Regions from separate parts of the Homo sapiens genome. Here all the other regions are linked to region 2. Evidence: promoter capture Hi-C in human tissues and cell types (Jung and others, 2019). All regions are on one chromosome and are shown on one strand. Each heading gives the region's core, a stretch centred on a gene start or on the middle of the fragment in contact. The rest is flanking DNA. Distances are from core to core; before and after follow the strand shown.

Region 1 (5,109 bases), core at 2,525-5,024, 490 kb after region 2:
CCTGGAGGAGGTATCCTACAGATTCTCAACTCCATAGGAACAAGCCCTCAGGTGAATCCTTGGAGCTGGGGGTTGAAATACTTTCTTGAAATTCTTCCTGGGACATCCAAGAAGACAGCATGGAGCTGTCCATGCTGGGGACCCTTCCTCATTTGTATGTTCCCCCTTCTAAAACTCCCTTGCCATGGAAATGCTCCTCTTGGTATTTTTTTTAAGGGTTTGATTGGGGTATAATTCAAATGCCATAAAATTCACCCATTTAAAATGTATAATTCAATAGTTTTTAGCATATTCAAAAAGTTGTGAAGCCATCATCACATCTAATTTTAGAACATTCTAATCACCCCAAAAAGAAACCCTGTACCCATTAACAGTCACCCCCCATTCCTTCCTCCCCTCATCTCCTGGCAACCAGTAATCTATACTTTCTGTCTCGTTAGGTGTACCTATTCTGGACATTTCTCATAAATGGAATCATACAATATGGGGCCTTTTGTGACTAACTTCTTTCACTTAGCAAAATGTTTTCAAGGCTCGCCCACAGTGCAGCTTGTATCCGTTTTTGTTCCTTTTTATGGATGAATACTACTTTATTGTATGGATAGGCCACATTTTATTTATCTTTCATCAGTTGATGAACATTTGGGGTGTCTCTACTTTTTGGTTATTATGAATAAAGCTGCTATGAATGTATAATTTTTTGCACAGACATAGGTTTTCAATTCTCTTGGATGTATACCTAGAAGTGGACTTGCTAGGTCATATGGTAACTCTTTTGAACATTTTTGAGGACCTGCTTTCTTGTTCCCCTCACTCCAAATGTTGTAGTATAATTAAAGTCAGAGTTGTCCTTGTAGACCAAGGCTTTTACCTCCCAGCTGGACATTTCCAAGGTCTCTTCCTCTACCAAAATTTAAGTGATGCCCCAGCCTGCATCAAGATGACATGGATTCAAATTCAGTCTCTACCTAGGCTGTGTGATCTCGGATAGGCAACTAAGCCTCTCTTAACTTCCATTTCCTCACCTGCAAAATAAGGACAAAAGCAATTCTTGGCTACAAAGACAATCATGACGTTGAAATGAGGGAATGTGTGAGAGAATTCTTTGTGAAAGCTGAAAACAGCAGTAGAGATGTTGTTCATTCATCCAATGTATATCAAGGGCCTATTATTTGCCATGTACTATGTTTTGTGATGGGACACGATGTTGACCAAGACAGATAAGGTACATGCCCTCTGAGATTTTATGTTCTGGTCTTTTTGGTCATAGATTGCCACCAAATGTTCTATAAACCTGAACAAACTATGCTTCCTCTTCAGGCCTCAGTTTTACCATCTGTAAAATGGGTGGGCTGGATCCACCCATTTGCCATAGAATTTCTACTTCTGCTTTCAGCCCAACAGTAAAATGAGCACAAGTGTCTCATACAATGCAGACTTCTAAATTCTGTCCCTCAGGGGATAGCAAGGGTGGGCTCTTCCTAGCTGCTCAGGATAGTCGAAGGGGACAGATCAAAAAAGGCAGTCCGTCTGGGATAGCCATGTGGACGGGAATGAGCTACCTTCCCCCTCACCTCCACGTCTTCTGGAACTTAATGATAACATCATCCCCACGCAGCTCCTGGCCTAATTGGCATGATTCCATTACATCTGCTGGTTCTTTCCCATAACGGAACCCAGCCTGGTGGTCCAGACCCGACTGCTGGGCCACAGCTGAGAAAAGGGCCCCCCGGGAGTGTGTGTTCCTCACGAAGAACAAAGATGTAGGCAGCAGCCTAAAATAGACACGGAAAAACACTGCTTTTTGTTTTCTCCCTGGAAGGGTGGCTGAGTGATTCGCGGCAGGGAACCCAGAAGGTCTGCATTGAAAACACTGTTATTATAAGACAGTCAGGAGGGACTGGAAGCTGCGGGTGCTGAGGGAAGACACCCTCTCTCACCACTGCATGCACTCTGGGCTGGAGTTGGATCCCAGGAGAACCCTGAACCAGACTTAATATCCAGAATAATCCTCACTCCCACTGCCCCACACCATTGCCAACTCTGGCAGGTCCTTTCCCATGGCTCCCTGTTACCCTTAGGATAAAGTCAAAGTGACTTAGCAAGGCATTCAAAGCTCCCCAGGTTCTGGCTTTAAGTGAGTTTACTGGCCTCTTCCCACTGCAGGTTATTCATTGGAAATCCCAGAACTTGTTCTGCATTTTCCTGCTTCTGGGCCTTTGCTTACCCAACACCTTCACCTACCATGCCTGGATGAATCCAGAATCTTGATTCTAACTGATCGTAGCAAAAAAAGAGGAAGGCAGAAGGGACTGATTGGCTTATGTAACTGAAAAGCCCAGGGGTACACGCCTTCAGGCTCAGCTGAATCAAGTTGCTCAAATTATGTTCTAAGGTTTCTGTTTTCCTCCATCACCTGGACCTTTTTTCCTTTGTGTTGGCATCCTCGCAGGCAGCTCCCCAAGTCATAGCAAAAATGGCTCTCAGCAGCCCCAGGCTTGTATCTAACCAGCCCAGCAGCTCCAGTGGGTACCAGTAGTTCCTAAGAGCTCTGTGGTTGACATGCATTGGCCTGGATTGCATCATATGGCCATCTCTGAGCCAACCACTGTGGTCATGAACCACATGCCCATACCTGGAGCCATTTCCTGGGGATCAGAAGAGGGATGGTGCCAGGGAAAAATCAGGGAGCTGTTACAGATAAAGAGCAAGTAGATACTGGGCAGTTAAAAGCAAGTGTTCACAACAATGCCCATAGCTCTGGCCCACACTCAGCCAATTCCAACTTTAAGCAAATTTCACCGGGAAACAAATACCTGGGGGAAGAATGGTTAGAAACTCTTCTGGGCAAGACTCATCCTCTGGTCTTGGTTTACTCACCCGAGAACAAAAAAGGTTAGACTTGAAGCTTTGTCCGAGGTCTTTCCTGCTTTGACATCAAGTGAATTGCAGCAAAACAGCCCTTCCTTGTCTCCCAAATTTCTGATCGAAGAGACCTAGTGAGTCAGATCAAGGAATGGACTGTCATTAAAGGCCAGAAAAAGCTCTTTTTTAAGTTTCCACTTATTGTGTTCTATTTCCTAGGCTCTGTGTTAAGCATTTTTCCAGGTACATTGTTTTGTTCAGTTCGCACATTAACTCTCTGAGATTCCATACTACATGTGAGGAAACTGAAGCTGTGAACACTGAAGTGAGTGAGGATTGCAGCCCCATCGGCCTGACTCTTAACCACTATGCCACACTCTTTCCATCCCAAACCAAAGACCCTTAGAGACCTCGGATTAGAGACTTGGGCTGCAAGCCCAAAGACTCCCATAGGTAGAACATGGCCACATAAATGAATGAAGAGGTCCACATAGGGCCTTTGGCACTGGAATGCTCATGCCTCAGCCAGTTGCTTTTACAGATGCAGAATGCACAGCTTAATATTTTTCTTTGTTTTCTTTTCTTTTCTTTTTTTTTTTTTTTTTTTTTTGAGACAGGGTCTCACTCTGTCTCCCAGGATGGAGTGCAGTAGCATGATCATGGCTCACTGCAGCTTCAACCTCCCAGCCTCAAGTGATCCTCCCACCTCAGCCTTCCAAGTAGCTGGGACTACAGGTACATGCCCCCACACACAGCTAATTTTTGTATTTTTTGTAGAGACGAGGTTTTGTCCTGTTGGCCAGGCTGGTCTCAAACTCCTTGGGCTCAAGTGATCCACCCTCCTCAGCCTCTCAGAGTGCTAGGATTACAGGCATGAGCCACCACACCCAACCTTAGTTTTTCGAGATAAATTGAAAATTTGCATTCTAAAACAAAATCTCTCAACTTTATAACTGTTAGCAACTTGCTCAGTTCTTGAAACACTATGTAAACCAAACAAAACAGGTCTGTGAGTTAGATTCAACTTACAGGCCACCAATTTTCAGCTTGTCTCTCTTTGCTTCGTACGGATGGGGGAAACTAAGTCACAGATATATGTCATATTATACATAATATATATATATATATATATTTGGCCTTATCACTGAGGCTGAATTAGGTGCTTTCTCCTAGGGTGGTCTTGGTAGTGTGTCTCTGAGAAGGTGACATATGAGCAGAAACCTAAAGGGAGAGCTTCCCTTCTGGGGGAAGAGCTTTCCAGGCAGATGGAGGAGCAAGTGCAAAGGCTCTGAGGCAGAAAAGCAACTGTATGTTTGAGGAACAGCAGTAAGACTAGTGAGCTAGAGTAGAATAAGAGAGGGGGAGTGAAAGGGGATGAGGACGGGATAACCAAATCCACTTCTACATAGGGCCTGTAGGACCCAGGTTCTAATTAAAATGAACAACTGAGAGGACAAGGTGATGAATGGATTTATGAATGAATGAATGGATTCCAAGCTGCTTTCATGGGATATTCGTATTTGGTGTTAGTGTGTGGGTGTGGCTGATTCGCCCTAGGTTCTGAAGTCTTCAGAATTATCCTGGAAGATGATCTTGGTTACCTTCCCAAGTTGCTGTCAGTCTTCAGAGGTTGTGACACTTGGATAGAAGCCTCAAATTGGGCAGGGCCTCTGGGAGAGCAACTATGAGACAGACAAACCAAGAAGAACCAAGGCAGGAAGAGATGGTGCTCACCAAAATACCCATCACGCCAAGTGTGCTCATTCCCACCAGCCAGGGACCCCAGGCTTCCATAGAGTACTGTGACCTGGACAGTGAGCCCATGAATCTCCCTTGTCACCAAGTCCTCACATCCCTCCCATCAATCCCTGGCAAACCCATTGGGGATGCCGTGCAGGGGGCCTGCTCCTGTCCTCGGCCGCACTCAGCCTGTGAGACTATTTTGTGCCTTGGTTCAGGCACTGGCATCCCAGCTGCTGGCAAGCGACTCAGATGGCGTTGTCATGGCGACCCTCAGGCACGGATTTCCAGAGATGCTCCCTGCATCCTCCCGAGCCTGCCACTGCTGATTGCTGGGGGAGAGCATGACTCACCGTTAAATATATCACGGTCGTCCCAAATTGGCTGCTCAGCCCCAGCAGCCGGATGTAGGGACAGGCAGCATCTGGGGGTGTGTGGGTTTGGGAAGCTGAGAGGCATGACCTTCTGTGTACCTTTGGGGCCTTCAGCTCCTGTCATTTCCAG
Region 2 (4,754 bases), core at 1,312-3,811:
CCTGTCCCCAGTTGACTTTTTTTGTTTTGTTTTTTTGAGACAGAGTCTCACTCTGTAGCCCAGGCTGGAGTGCAGTGGTGCCATCTCGGTTCACTGCAACCTCTGCCTCCCAGGTTCATGCCATTCTCCTGCCTCAGCCTCCCGAGTAGCTGGGACTACAGGCACCCGCTACTGCGCCTGCTACCACACCCGGCTAATTTTTGTATTTTTAGTAGAGACAGGGTTTCACTGTGTTAGCCAGGATGGTCTCGGCCTCTTGACCTCGTGATTTGCCCACCTCGGCCTCCCAAAGTGCTGGGATTACAGGCGTGAGCCACCGCGCCTGGCCATGCATCACCCTTTTTAAGTGATCCACAGTATTTGTTAGTATGGATATACCATTACCCCAGTGATGGAGATTTAAATATTTCCTATTATTGCTTTTGCATTAGAAACAATGATGCAAGAGGTCTCTTTGGGCACAGTGTATGTTTCTCTAGCAGATTTTGAGAAATCCAATTGCTGGGTCATGGGGTAGCTTTTCTGTTTTGCTTTTTGTTCTATACTCCTCTGTATTGTTGGAATCATGTATTACTTTGGTGATGGAAAAAAAAACTAAAAAATAGAAAGAGGTAGGTAGATTGTTCGTGTTGTTGGCTCTTCGGAAGTAGAAGTGCCTAATCATTGTCACGTGACCCTTACATAATCTGGTAATCATTATATAATAAAGTCGGGAAAGGACGCTCCTGTCATTTCTACATCACCAAGTAGAGAAATCACAAGCCTTCAACTGTGTTTAAAAGATGAGAAACATGGCCGGACACAGTGGCTCAGGCCTGTAATCCCAGCACTTTGGGAGGCCGAGGTGGGCGGATCACGAGGTCAAGAGATGGAGACCATCCTGACCACCTTGGTGAAACCCCATCTCTACTAAAAATACAAAAAATTAGCCAGGCGTGTTGGCGCGTGCCGGTAGTCCCAGCTACTCCGGAGGCTGAGGCAGGAAAATGGCGTGAACCCAGGAGGCGGAGCTTGCAGTGAGCTGAGATTGTGCCACTGCACTCCAGCCTGGGTGACAGAGCGAGACTCCGTCTCAAAAAAAAAAAAAAAAAAAAAAAAAACTGAGAAATGTGACTGTCTTTGGAGACTTTGGGTCTTTTCTGATAGTAGATGATGACCAGGGTTTCCTACTGGTAAAGCCCTTCTTCAAAATCTTTGTTTCTCTTTTGCCTGTCATAGACCCACAGAGCTGGAGGGGACTTTTTTAAGCAGCCCCACGTGAAAATGCAATATTGTAAGAGCTACCAAACCAGAGTGCTGAGTTGCTGTAAGAGGCAGACTTAAGGTGGGACAGTTTGTCTCAGATGGAATTCCTGTGAACATCATCACATTGCAGATAATTAAGAGAGGAGCTTAAACATGAGCTGATAAAGAACACAGGGACTTTGAGCGGTGCTCAGGCAACGACAGGTAAACACAGTAATGCTACTGTTTGGACAGCAGCAGATTGCTGGTTCTCCAAACGTTTCCCAGTATTGTGTCACTGACTCATCACACAAGCCCCACCGGTTTTAGCTGGGGTCACCAAGACTCAGAGTGAGAATCCTACAATCAATGAACATCTGTTGTGTGCCTCCTCATCAGACATGTGCAGAGCTCGGGGGGAAATAGATGAATAAGAAGCTCAGGGTCTGGTGGGGATGTCAGATTATATATATATATAGTTTATCCGAAAGTGCTGGGATTACAGGCGTGAGCCGCCGTGCCCGGCTTTTTTTTTTTTTTTTTTTTTTTTTTTTTTTTAAGAGACGTGGCCTCGTTATGTTGCCCAGGTTGGTCTCGAACACCTGGGAGCAAGCCATCCTCTCGCCTCAGCCTCCCGACTAGCTGGGACTACAGTCGCGTGCCACCACGCCTGGCTTTATTATTTAATATTACAGGTTAGAAAGCTGAGGCTCAGAGAGGTTAGGTAACTTGTCCAAGGTCACACAGCTAGTAAGTGGCAAAACTAAAAATAGAACCCACGCTCTTAACCGCCGCCCACGGCCCGTAACACCCGCAGCCCTAGCAAGGCTGGATTCCAATCACGCGTGATTTCAGCATCTCACTGGCTCTCTTTGAGCCTCGGTACTTCTGTCCGTAAAATGGGGGCGAGGGATCCGACCGTCAGCCCCTGCTTGCTTGTGCGGAGTCATGAGTACAGCTCGTGGATCATGATAAGTGGCAGGTCCGGGAAGTGGAGGCCGAGTTCACGCAGTCAGCACTCATAGCTCCCAGCTCCCTGCTCCTGAGCGGTTTCCATGACAACCCGGCCAGCCACCATCCCTAGGCCGAGCGGCTTGCGTCACGTCCGGCCTGTTTACTTCCGGGTCCCAGTCTCAGACGCAGCGATGGCTCGTTAGGCTCCAAAGTGCGGTTCCGCCGGTTTCGTCCTCGCTCTTCGGCCTTCCGCTTTGTCCTCCGCCTCTGGGTTGTAGTCTCCGTCGGCCGCGGGCATCGACCGCTTCCCGGAGCCAGCGCGCAGCCGTGGTCCACCCTCTCTTCGGGCCCGCCTCATGGTGACATCATTTCCGGGCCGAGTGTTTCCGGGTCGCTGCTGGCCCCCGGGTACTGGTCTCAGTACCCCTGCAGCCGGCCGGAGAGGCTAGAGCCCGACGGGGCCCGGCTCCGGCGGCAGCCGCGCCTCTCGCTTGCTTCCCTCGGCCGGGCCGTCCTCGGCGGCAGTGTCAGGGTGAGTGACGGGCGGCCGCGGGCGGAAACTGCCTTCGGGGCTTCCCCAGGCGGAGGGGGCGCCAGACAGCGGCAGGGCTCGGCTGGCCCGGGAGCGGGGTACCCTCACGGCAGGCAGGACTACAGGTGGGCCCGCTGTTTCGGCGCTCCCGGGACCCCCAGCCTATCCTCAGGACCCCCATTCTCCCGGGAGCTGCCTCGCAGGCTCCTGGGACCCGCCGAGGGTGGCTCAGGGCCGCCCAAGAGGAACACCCCTCTTCGGCGACTGGCCAAACAGAAGGACACCCCGATTTCGCCACGAGGCAGTTACCGCGCAGGGGTTCCCAGTTCAGGCTCTGGCGGCACACCTGGGTTTGTACTCACTGTGTGACCTTGGATAAGTCACTTCATCTTAAGAGCCTCAGTTGCCTATTTAAGTGATTGAACCTGGTTGCTAGGGCTGGAGTGGAGATGGAATGAGATCATGCAGGGCCTCTGGCATACAGCAGGCGTCCAATAAGTGATAGTTCCTGTTACTTCATTCAATTCACGAAGCCGTAGGGGGGGCCAGAATTTGAGACTGGGCTGTTTTTCACAACTGACGTGGCCCCCCGAGGCTGTAGGAATGACCGAGCTGGGACTTAGCAGCCGCCAGCTTCTGTCCCCTGCAGGGAGGGAAACAGCTTCCTTCAGAGCTTCTCCGAGAGAGGCAGCTGCCACTAGGGAAGCTTCTTTCAGCACCGCTGAGGTTATTTTCAGAGGTTTGGAAGGACTCTGTGTGAATTTCTTTGGAATCTAGTAGGAGTGTGGGGACCTTCTGGTGTTTCACAGCCAGTGGAAGGTGCCTTGGATGTTTCTCGGAGCCTCTTGCTTGGAACGAGTGCATTGGTGTGGGTGGGGAGGTGGAGGGGGTTGAACTGACTTCCCCGTCTCCTGTTTGGAGGCTGATGGAGCTAGACCAGGGATGTGTAAACCTGTGGACAGGGGCAGTGCACAGACCAAAATAGGTCTGCCTGTGCAGAGAGGGGGCGCCTTCAAATGCTGCTTGGGGAACATTTCTGCTTGAATGGGCCAGCTGAGGTAAAGCCAAGCTAATGCTTAGCTACTCGGAATCACTTCACTTCCATGCAGTGGGACTCTAAACAGATACAGCTTTCCTCTTAGATGTTCAAAAAATAACTAAAGAAGCCACTGGCTCCCTGACTGTGCAATATCTCTTTTTCCATTGACTTGCTTTTCAAGAAGGTACCTAGATTGTGGGTGCAGGAGGTGCTGACTGGAGCCGTTGACTCTGGGCACCTGCCTGTCTCTGTGTTCAGGATATTCACAGTGCTGTTTTTTTGTTTTTTGGGTTTTTTTTTTTTTTTTTTTCCACCAGACTGGCACGGCTTGGCGTTCCAATCCTTGGGTTGCTTGGAGAAATTAGCAGCTTCTGTCGCTGGGCTGTCTCGGTCTCCTGTAACCACGATGTTTTTGCAGAGAGCGTATTTTGTTGTTCTTGCAGAGTGCTGGGAATGAATTGCTGGCTCTGTGCTCAGAAAAAACACCAGCTATGACCAGCTACAAGGCATCTTGTATTCTCAGAAAATGTTTTCAGCAGGGATGATGTCAGCTGCTTCATCACTGGCCGATGTCTCTGACCAGCCTCTTTCCTTGGCCCTTGAGCTTACATCATATAGAGATTAGCTCTCCTAGCCCCATTCGGTGTGGGAAGATGGGAATTTTGCTACTACAGGAATTTTTGTAACTCAACTCTGCTCGCGCCGCCATAAGGCATTCTAACTTAGCCAAACACTTTCGAGTAGAGCTGTCCAGCAGATGCAGCAGGATGGCTTTGCAAGAGTCGGAGTTTTGGCGTTAGACCTAGGTTCAGAGCTCAGATCCACTTCTTCCTAGCCTTACGACTTAGGGTAAGTGAGTTGGCCTCTCCGAGCCTCAGTTTCCTCTTTAACCTTGGATCTATCCTGTGGATTTCATTGGTTTTCACAGAGCAGTTAGCAGAGGGATGCCACACAGTAATCCCTTGGTAAATGGTACTGATGTAACAATAAATGAGTGAGGTAAAT
Region 3 (4,654 bases), core at 137-2,636, 280 kb after region 2:
GTGCCACTGCACTCTAGCTTGGGTGACAGAGTGAGACCTGTCTTAAAAAATACACACACACACACACACACACCACACACATCCAAGTTTTTAGAAAATATCTTTAATCTTAATTTAAAAATATCTTAATATCTTAAAAAACAAACTGTATATCCCAACAAAGCAGCTATTTTCATTTTTCTCCTTTGACATGCGAAAATCAACAAATTATAATTTAGCAATTTTTTCTTCTAATAAATAATACGTTCATTATAAAATACAAATGAGTATAAAAATAAATTACCCACAACAATAAGTAACATGTTACCATTTCATTGAGTTTATTTTGTGTTTAAAAAGTGGCAAGTGAACAGTAATTTAAAATCTCTGTGTGTCAGTTTTTAAAATCACAAATCTCAGGATTGTGAGGATTAAATGATGTAATGTGTATAGAGCTCTGGCATATCTGATATGTGATAAGCTCTCAATAGGTGTTACTGTTTTTATATCAACATTAAATACTCTGTAAACAGGATCTTAAGTGGCTCCATTTAATTCGGTTATATAGATGTACTGTAATTTATGTAACTATTTCCTGGTGTATATTTAGAATCTTTTCCATTTTCCACTATTTAGAGTGTGATATAGTAGATAATTCTTTTGCCTGTTATTCCTATTTAGGAAAAATTCCTATAAGCGAATGTAGTCATTTTAAGGCTCTTTTTTTTTTTAAGCTCTGTCCTTTAATGGATGCAAATAGGGTTTTTAAGGCATATTATAACTAAGTGCCCCTCCTGCTAAAGGTTCTAACAAAACTTTTCACTTCACCAGTGTTCTCTGTACTAAATGCCCATTTCATTGGAACCACTCCAAACTGAAGGGTGGAATATTAGTGATATGTCTACATAGATTTAGCTGCGCCATCACATAAGGCTTGTACTGTACAAGCTTGGGTGAACAATCCTGTGTGTGAGTGGAATAAAGTAATATTTTTATGGAGTAAGTAAACAGTAACCTCATAAGGAACAAATGCAAAATACTACCTGGTATCTGTTTCCTTTGTAGCTTGGCTTTTGAAAAGTATGTGTTTGTTGTTAATTACAAGGACTATTTTGCTAATAAAAATTCAAATGATAGGCTGAGCACTGTGGCTCACACCTGTAATCCCACCTCTTCACAAGGCCTAGGCTTGAGGATCACTTGAGCCCAGGAGTTCAAGACCAGTCTGGGCAACAGTGAGACCTTGTCTCTACAAAAAATAAAAAAAATTAGCCTGTTGTGGTGGCACACGCCTGTAGTCCCAGCTACTCAGGAGGCTGAGATGGGAGGACTAATTGAGCCTGGGAGATTGAGGCTGCACTGAACCATGATCACCTCACTGTACTCCAGCCTGGGCAACACAGTGGACCCTGTCTCTTAAAAAAAAAAAATTAGATGATACAAGTGTCTAAGTATTAATCCCCATTTTGATTCTATTTTATTCCCTGGAAGTAACCATTTCTTTCCGTACTTTTCTTTTCTTTTTTGAGACAGATTTTCTTTCTGTTACCCAAGCTGGTGCAATTTTGCTCACTGCAACCTTTGCCTCCCGGGTTCAAGTGATTCTCCTGTCTCAGCCTCCTGAGTAGCTGGGATTACAGACCTGCACCACCACGCCTGGCTAATTTTTTTTTTTTTTTTTAAGTAGAGATGGGGTTTCACCATTTTGGCCAGGCTGGTCTCGAACTCCTGACCTCAAATGATCTGCCCACCTCGGCCTCCCAAAGTGCTGGGATTACAGGCACGAGCCACCTAGCCCAGCCTATTTTTTCCGTTCACATAAAAACTTTAATTCAGTTAAAATTGAGTTTTAACTCAGTTTTTAAGAAATGACACAATGAGTCAGTTAAGCGGGTGAGAGCTTTTGCTGTGTGTGATTTCCAGGGTAAGCTTGTAACATGTCTTGTAGGCTTTGGTCACTCCTGGGCTATTACCGTTGTATCTAAAAGCCTGTTCTCTTGGTCTTGGACAGAGTACAGAATGCAGGCTATTCTGTGAGCCGGCCAGAGGGTGACACAGGAAAGTACAAGTCCATTCCTCATCACCATCGAGGAGAAGTCCAGTTTCTTGGAAGGTTGGTGGAATTTATCTCTGTCTCTTAGAAGTATCCCCTATACTTTCATGTCCGGATATCTTAGAGCATATTACAGCCCCTTCTCCTACTCCCCACCCCGAGGCCCTGTTCTGACAGCTGTTTGACAGCTGTTGCATGTATTCTAACTCTGAGGCAGAACAGTGTGGGGATCAGACCGTTGGTGAACATTTTCAATAGTAAGATTCTTCGAAGGAAATCACTTGTCCTATGTCTTCAGCCTTGTGGTCTCCACAGTAGCCTTTGGGGAATTTGGGAAGAAACAGCTTGGATGAAGGTCCCTGAGGTGACAGAGCAGTGGCGCCCTTTCCGCAGGCTCCCGTTCCGAATGGTGTCCTGAGCTTCTGTCTGGGTGGCTGCAGTTGCTGTGTTACCTTTTCTTTCTTTGTGTGTGTGTGTGTGTGTGTGTGTGTGTCTTTTCTAAATTGTGGGGAAGACTGTGCTCTAGACAACCAATTCTAATTGCTGAAATTCTGTTTTCATGGGAGTAAAATGGCACTGAATACAGAGTATGAACTTTCTCATCTGTTGTATTTTTAATGCTTTACCTCCCACTTCCCCACTCTCTGACCTTGGGCAAGTTACCTCACATTATTAAGCCTTGGCTTCCTCATTTGCTAGCAGGGGCTGGCGTGAGCATTAAATGAAATAATTAAGTGAAGCACCTGGCATGAAACACAGGAGGTGTTTCTGACCACAGCACTCAGCCTGGCATAGCAGAATTGGCCGTGCGCCCACCTTGTGCTGCAGAAGTGCTGCCATGGGTTGCGTCCTCTGCTGTGGGACGCCCTGCTCCATCCTCTGGCTGCAGAGGCATGGATCCTCACTCAGAGCCACCTCTTCTCTGTTCCCTCCCTAAACAGGTATGCTCTGCTGAGGAAGTCAAAAGAACGGCAAGGGCTGGATGGCCTCAACAACCTGAACTACTTTGCAAACATCACATACGACGCCTTGTATAAAAACATAACTGTCAACCTGACACCCGAGCTGGCTCAGGTGAACGAGTACTGAGAGGAGAGAATGTACGTTTGCTTTACCCACCGCCACCAAGAAAGCAGTCCGATGAGATTTTTTTTTGGAGGGGGGAGGGTCTACACAGCAAGAGAACAGAAATACTGTGTCTCATGAAGGATCACAGAGTTCAGGGGGAAAATGTGACAGCACACGCACAAACGCCTTCACTGGATCAGCCGCTGGAACTGAGGGAGTGAGCTTGGGGACTTCCTTCGTCAGCACTGGCTTTCTGTTTTCACAAGACAGACGTCTGTCCCGCTGCTCTCTCCCCATCTCCTACCCCACATCCTGTCTTAGCCGCAGTCTCCAGAACCCATGATGAACTGTGATCTGCCGTGGTCCTGCCGTGGTCCTGCCGTGGAGCCTGTCCCTACACATGACCTTGGAGCCTCTTGGCCTTCAGAGCAGAGGCAAACCCACCACAGGGCAGCTGCGTTTTAGGAAGAGCAAATGAAACTCCACACCATTCTTCTAGATCTCTGGTGTTCTCTTTGGTTTCATTTTTTTAAAAAATTACCTTCTTTGGGTGGGGATTGAGGGTGGAGGGGAGGGTGTTTGGGAAAGATAAATAGACATAAATATATAACAATCACTTCTTGAAGAAGTATAATTGTAAATAAGCCATGTAAAATGCCTTTTTAAAATTTAATTTTCTAGCTGGCTCCAATTCAAATTGAGGATTTATGTATTAGGCCACTTACTTGGTTGGCAAGTGCAGGAACTCAGTTAAAATGCAGTTGAAGAATGTCATCTCCCGAATTGCTGTCACTTTGGCGAGGGAGTGGATATAGGGCATGTCACAAAAGAACAAAATAACCCGACCTTTATTGCTGGGAGCTGGCTTCTGTCCCTTTCTTCCCCCCCCCACGAGTCTTGCCCTTGACTTCTGCTCTGGATTCACTCTTCCCTGTCGGCCGCGCATGTGCTCATCCCACTCTCCGCTAAGCGGGAGGCTGCTGTTAGAGCAGGCTGCTTCCTGCCTAAAGCAGGCCCTTCGGGGCTCGCTGCACACACATCTCTGGCTCTCCAGGCTTCGTGTTCTGTCTTTTCATCAGCATGGCGGGGCGGGGGGCGGGGGGCGGGGGTGTGTATGGGAATCCCTCCCCCTCTTACTTTTTCTCTTGTGGAACTTGGCCACAGTTTCTGAACAATGTGCCTACATTACCAGCTGGCTTCAGTGATTCCTCTGTGTCCCTTTTTGGTTTCTGGAAAGATTCTTTGTCAACATTAGTAACTGATACATAGAACCAAGGAGCACTCAAATAGGGAGCCAGGAGCCAGGGAGCTGGTGACACTTGTGTGCTGTGGGGCAGCTGGGATCCAGGTAAGACCGGATTGAAGCTTTGAAATTAGACTAACAAAGCTCCAGACAGCAAGAGCCCAGGTGCACTGCTCACACCCCCACCTGCATTTTGAAGTCATATTATTTTTTGTTTTGTTTTTTAAGACGGTCTGGCTCTGTCGCCTAAGCTGGAGTGTGGTGGCACGATCACAGCTCACTGCAGCCTCCATCTCCTAGGCTCAAGCCAT
Region 4 (4,859 bases), core at 334-2,833, 420 kb after region 2:
GTCCCTGTTTTTTCTCATTCATTTCATGATGGACCAGTGAAAATGCAAACACGTTATTGGTCTGGCATTTGGGAGTCATGGCCATTTGAGACATGGTTCAGAGTGTGTGTCTGCAAGGATGGGAGGGTGATGAGTTGGGGAAGAGCTGGCAGTGTACTATCTTATTGCCCCAGGACCTTCCGTGGAGCTTCACAGTGGCCTGGGAGAGACAAGGCAGGTGCACCCATGCTATAGTTAGGATGTTTGACCTTTGCAAACCTCATGTTGAAATTTGATTCCCAATGTTGGAGGTGTGGTCTAATGGGAGGGGTTTGGGTCATGGGAGTTGATCCCTCATGAAAGGCCTGGTGCCCTCCCCATGGTAAGAAGTGAGTTCTCACTCTAGTAGTTCCTGCAAGAGCTGGTTGTTGAAAAGAGCCGGTGCCTCCCTTGCCTCTTTCTTGCTTCCTCTCTTGCCATGAGGTCTCTGCACACACGGGCTGCCCTTCCCCTTTCAGCATGAGTGGAAGCAGCCTGAGGCCCTCACCAGAAGCAGATGCCAGTGCCACATCTTGTATAGCCTGCAGAACATTGAGCCAAATAAGCCTCTTTTCTCTATAAATTATGCAGCCTTAGGTATTCCTTTATAGCAACACAAATGGACTAAGACAACTCACATTATGCAAATCTGGGAGATTGACCTTTGGGACATCTGGATCCTTGGGATGAACAGGGTCTGTATGTGACTTTATTTCAGGTGTTCTAAGAGCTGACCACTGCAGAAGAGACACTAATTGATTGGCCAACTTCCTCACTAGAAGAAACCCTGGCTTTCTTCAGATATTAGGCAGCCTTGTGCTCAAGAAAATGGGCCCAACCTCCAAATCAAGACAGGGCCAAGCCAAACATGGATATCAGGTTCCCCTTGCCAGTAACTGGGCTAGTGGTGGTCATGTGATCCAGTACTGACCAATGAGATGGCTGGGAAAATCAGTGGGGAGCTTCTGAAATATGGGAGATGTTCCTTCTTCCTCCCTCTCTGGGAGTTGTCATGTGAGAGGCTGAGCATGGCAGCCGTTTTGTGACGATGTGGACAAGAGACTCTCACAGAAATCAAACAAGGACCCTGAGATAGCTAGGCTGTTGCTGAGACAGGTCCTGGCATCACCTACTTCTGGATTTTGTGTTAAATGAGACCAATAAATGTCATACCTTTTTTATACTTTACTAAGAAGCCACAGTGGACAAGAGCTTGGGTTCTGAGTGGGCTTAAATCTCTGCTGAGCCACTTAATACCAGGGTGATTTGGGGGCATTTCTCTGTGCCCCAGCTTATTCACCTGTAAAATAGGATAATGGATAATAATACCGTCTCCCTCATAGGGTTCTTGTGAGCATTACATGAGTAAATATTGTCATTCATAGCCAGCGGAAGAAACAGAAAAATAAGTATTGTAGGTTAGTCTCATACAGTTTCCCAGAGGAAAGAGACATTAACTCAGACTATGGGAGGCAGGGAAGGTGATGCTGAATATGGGCTCTGAAAGGTGAATAGGAGTTCACCATGTGGGGTAAAGAAGATGGCTGGGGTTGGAGAAACATTCTAAGCTGTGGAAATAGCAGGAGCAAGGCCTCTGTATCAGATATCTCGTGCTGTGTAACAAACAACTCCAAGATGTAGTGACTTAACACAAAACTATTTTATTATTTCTCATGTCTTTGTGGATTGGCGCTTTTGGTTTGTGTTTTGAGATGGAATCTCACTCTGTTGCCCAGGCTGGAGTCTAGCAGCATGATCTTGGCTCACTGCAACCTCCACCTCCTGGGTTCAAGCAATTCTCCTGCCTCAGCCTCCTGAGTAGCTGGAATTACAGGTGCCTGCCAACACGCTTGGCTAATTTTTGTAATTTTTTTAGTAGAGACGGGGTTTCACCATGTTGGTCAGGCTGGTCTCAAACTCCTGACCTCAGGTGATCCACCAATCTTAGCCTCCCAAAGTGCTGGGATTACAGGCGTGAACCACAGTGCCCAGCCAGGTTGGCACTTTCTAAAAAGCTCATGAGAATGAATAGCTCTCATAAGAACTAATAGAAAGAGAATGGGGCTTATAGTTGGATGGTTCTGCTGCTGCTCTCACTTGGGGGTCTCTCATGCAGCTGCAGTCAGATGTTAGGTGAGGCTGGGACGTCCACGACGACTTCATTCATATGCCTGGTGCCTTGGTAGGTATGGCTGGAAGGCTGCATTCAGCTGTAACATTGGGAGGGCTGAGCCTCTGGTCTCTTTCCATGTAATTGCAGGGCTTCTCACTTTCCATGTGGTTTTTCCACATGGTCCCTTCCAGCAGGGTAGCCTGGCTGCCTACACAGTGGTTCAGAGCTCCCAAGAGCACAAAAGCAGAAGCTTCCCGACCCTTTCAAGGCTTAGGCCTGGAACTGGCATTACTGCCACCACATTCCACTGGTAAATGCAAGTCACAAGGCCAAGCCCAGAGTCAATGTGGAAGTGAGCTGAGCAAAGCATGGATACTAACAACAGTTTCCCTAGGGACTGGCTATCACTAAGCCGGAGGTTGGAAAGTTTTTGCTGAAATGCAGGAATGTGGAAAGGAGTGGTGGGTAAAGAAGCTGGAGAAACAGGGCAAGGGTCAGAAACTTGTTTCTGTGTCCTACCATCCCCAAGCTTGTGAGAGAGGAGAGGCACTGAGGAAATCTGTGTTAAATGAATGAACGGCCTTTGCCTTATCTTGGGAGTTTGCCCTTTGTCTCAGGCAATGAGTGGTGAAGACTTATAAATAGGGAGTGACATGGTCAGACTTGTGCCTTTAAAAGTCTACCCTAGTAGCTGGGGGGAGGTTGGATTGGAGGAGGGAGAAGACTTGGGGAAAGATCAGAGCGGAGGCAGATGAGATCAGGAATGGGTGGAAAAGGGCAATGGAGAGGCAGTAGGAGAGATATCAGTCCCCACAGGGCAGAAGAACTGGATTTTAATGAAACATTATCTTAGGAGGATCAGTTAATTAGCTCTTGATCTCTGTGGCTTTGATTTCCTCCTTTTGCTGACTCGCCTCCTTTCCATTGCGTCTTGGAGTTCCCAGGCTCCTCTGTGGGAAAGAGATATTAGTTTACCTCTAATTGCTCTGCTGGAAGCATGTGCCTCCATCCATCTCCACCCTATGGTGGAGTGGCTTGGTAGGGATGCCTGGAATGCTGCATTCAGCTGTAACATTGGGAGGGCTGAGCCTCTGTCTCTTTCCATGTAATTGCAGGGCTTCTCATTTTCCATGTGCATTTCATCATTGTTTGGCCACAGACCCTGGAAGTCAGTGGCTTTGAAGGTCCAGGCCACAAAGAGGCTCACTGGTTTATCTGTCTTCCTCTGTGGGGACCCTCTGATGGCACTCACCTTTCCTCCCAGGGAGGGAGCCCAAAACAACAAGCTAGGGATTAGCACAGAGCATCACTGCAAATGTTAGGTGGTAGATGGGTTGAGATGGCTGGGTGGGCAGATAGATACATGGATAGATTAGAAGGGTGGACGGATGGATGACTGGCGAGTGAGTGGTGGATAGATGCATGAATATTTGGGGTGGATGAGGGAGTAGTTGTGTGGGTGGGTGAATGGGCAGATAGATGGATGAGTGGAAAGACAGATGGTGTACGGATGGGTGGATAGATGGATAAATGGATAAGTAGGTGGATGAGAAGGTAGCAAGATGGATAATGGATAGAATATATGAATGAATGGAAAGAAAGATGGATGAGTAAGTGGGTGAGTGAACGAATAGATGAGTGAGTGGGTAGATGGATGGGTGGGTATGTAGTTGAATAATTTGGTTGCTGAGTATATAGATGGATGAGGGGATGATTAGGTTGATGGATAGGTGATAGGCAAAAGAAAGGAAGGAGAGATGGGTAAATGTTTGGGTTGGTCAGAAAACCAGGCTCAGTCAGGCACACTGGGTATGTGCCTATAATTCCAGATACTTGAGAGGCAGAGGTGGGAGGACCATTTGAACCCAAGAGTGCAAGGCCAGCCTGGGCAACATAGACTCCAACTCTAAAACAAATTTTATTTAATTTAGAAAATGAAAATGAAGAAAGAAAAGAAAACCAAGTTCATCCACTTACCAGGAACTTGGGCCAGGAAACCCAGGGCTTAATAAAGACAATCAGGCTAGGGGAAAATAGAACAGGCACTAGAATCAGACATCTGTTCACTCAAGTATCATCTAACATTTAATAGGTCTTGTTTATATCAGAATATTCAGCCTGAGAGTGAAAGAGCTGGAAAGAATCTTAAATGAGATCAGACGCATGCAAAGCATTTAGAACAGGGCCTGGTATACAGGAAGTGCTCAATCAATGTTAGCTGATATTGTCATTGTTAGCATTGCTACTACTCTTCCCTTAATGAGTACTTACTACTTTTAGGCAAGGTGTGAAACACTTTATTTGCATTATCTTTTTACTTCTTTCAGCAACCCTGAGAGGAAGATTCCACCATTATCCTGTTTTTAATTATGATTATGATTATTATTTTGGGGTGTGACAAAAGAGAGATGGGTGAGAAGACTGGAGTCCAAGCTGATGGAAAAATCCCTCAGGCTGCTGGTGCTTTGTCTGGGCAGGGCCACAGCAAAGACCCGTTGTCCTGAGCGACATCCACTCAGAGATGTAATGATTTTCCTTGAGGCTTCGGGTACCCCTATAACCACCCTCATAAAGCAATTATTCTTACCCAGGAATTCATGGGGGAAGGGGGATTAATTAGCCTTGCTCAGTGCCCAGATGTGCCAAAAAACCTAAGTAGGATACTCAGTGGGATTATAAATAAATGATGACAGGTATTATGGAGTCCAAGAGAAAGAAAAAAGCTTGA

The links. Contacts are between HindIII fragments. The study calls those that stand out against the background at their distance.
Region 1: a fragment that was not itself captured here is called in contact with the fragment with the promoter of SPATA2 in region 2 in 1 of the 25 tissues and cell types used here (lymphoblastoid cells).
Region 3: a contact is called between a fragment that was not itself captured here and the fragment with the promoter of SPATA2 in region 2, in 1 of the 25 tissues and cell types used here (dorsolateral prefrontal cortex).
Region 4: a fragment that was not itself captured here is called in contact with the fragment with the promoter of SPATA2 in region 2 in 1 of the 25 tissues and cell types used here (lymphoblastoid cells).

What each region holds. Positions count from the first base shown.
Region 1 is chr20:49,424,539-49,429,647 of GRCh38, reverse strand. The region is part of intron 1 of KCNB1 (potassium voltage-gated channel subfamily B member 1); the gene reads left to right. It overlaps LOC105372649 (a long non-coding RNA gene), which reads right to left. Exons shown (of 4, transcript XR_001754659.2): 3 at 2,881-2,996. Among named protein-coding and RNA genes, the nearest start is that of KCNB1, 56 kb to the left of the region's middle. RefSeq lists enhancers at 4,345-4,868, 4,869-5,109. The HindIII fragment of the contact is 6,547 bases long and covers 501-5,109 here.
Region 2 is chr20:49,913,336-49,918,089 of GRCh38, reverse strand. SPATA2 (spermatogenesis associated 2) reads left to right here and starts at 2,561. Exons shown (of 3, transcript NM_006038.4): 1 at 2,561-2,710. LOC105372653 (a long non-coding RNA gene) reads right to left here and starts at 2,268. Exons shown (of 3, transcript NR_134564.1): 1 at 2,005-2,268. RefSeq lists enhancers at 2,520-2,579, 3,374-3,543 and a silencer at 2,610-2,859. The HindIII fragment of the contact is 5,477 bases long and covers 1-4,455 here.
Region 3 is chr20:49,634,779-49,639,432 of GRCh38, reverse strand. B4GALT5 (beta-1,4-galactosyltransferase 5) reads left to right here. Exons shown (of 9, transcript NM_004776.4): 8 at 1,991-2,092; 9 at 2,974-4,654. The coding sequence ends at 3,121. Among named protein-coding and RNA genes, the nearest start is that of PTGIS, 69 kb to the right of the region's middle. RefSeq lists an enhancer at 2,429-2,929. The HindIII fragment of the contact is 3,603 bases long and covers 1-3,187 here.
Region 4 is chr20:49,494,994-49,499,852 of GRCh38, reverse strand. No RefSeq gene overlaps it. Among named protein-coding and RNA genes, the nearest start is that of KCNB1, 15 kb to the right of the region's middle. The HindIII fragment of the contact is 4,348 bases long and covers 1-3,757 here.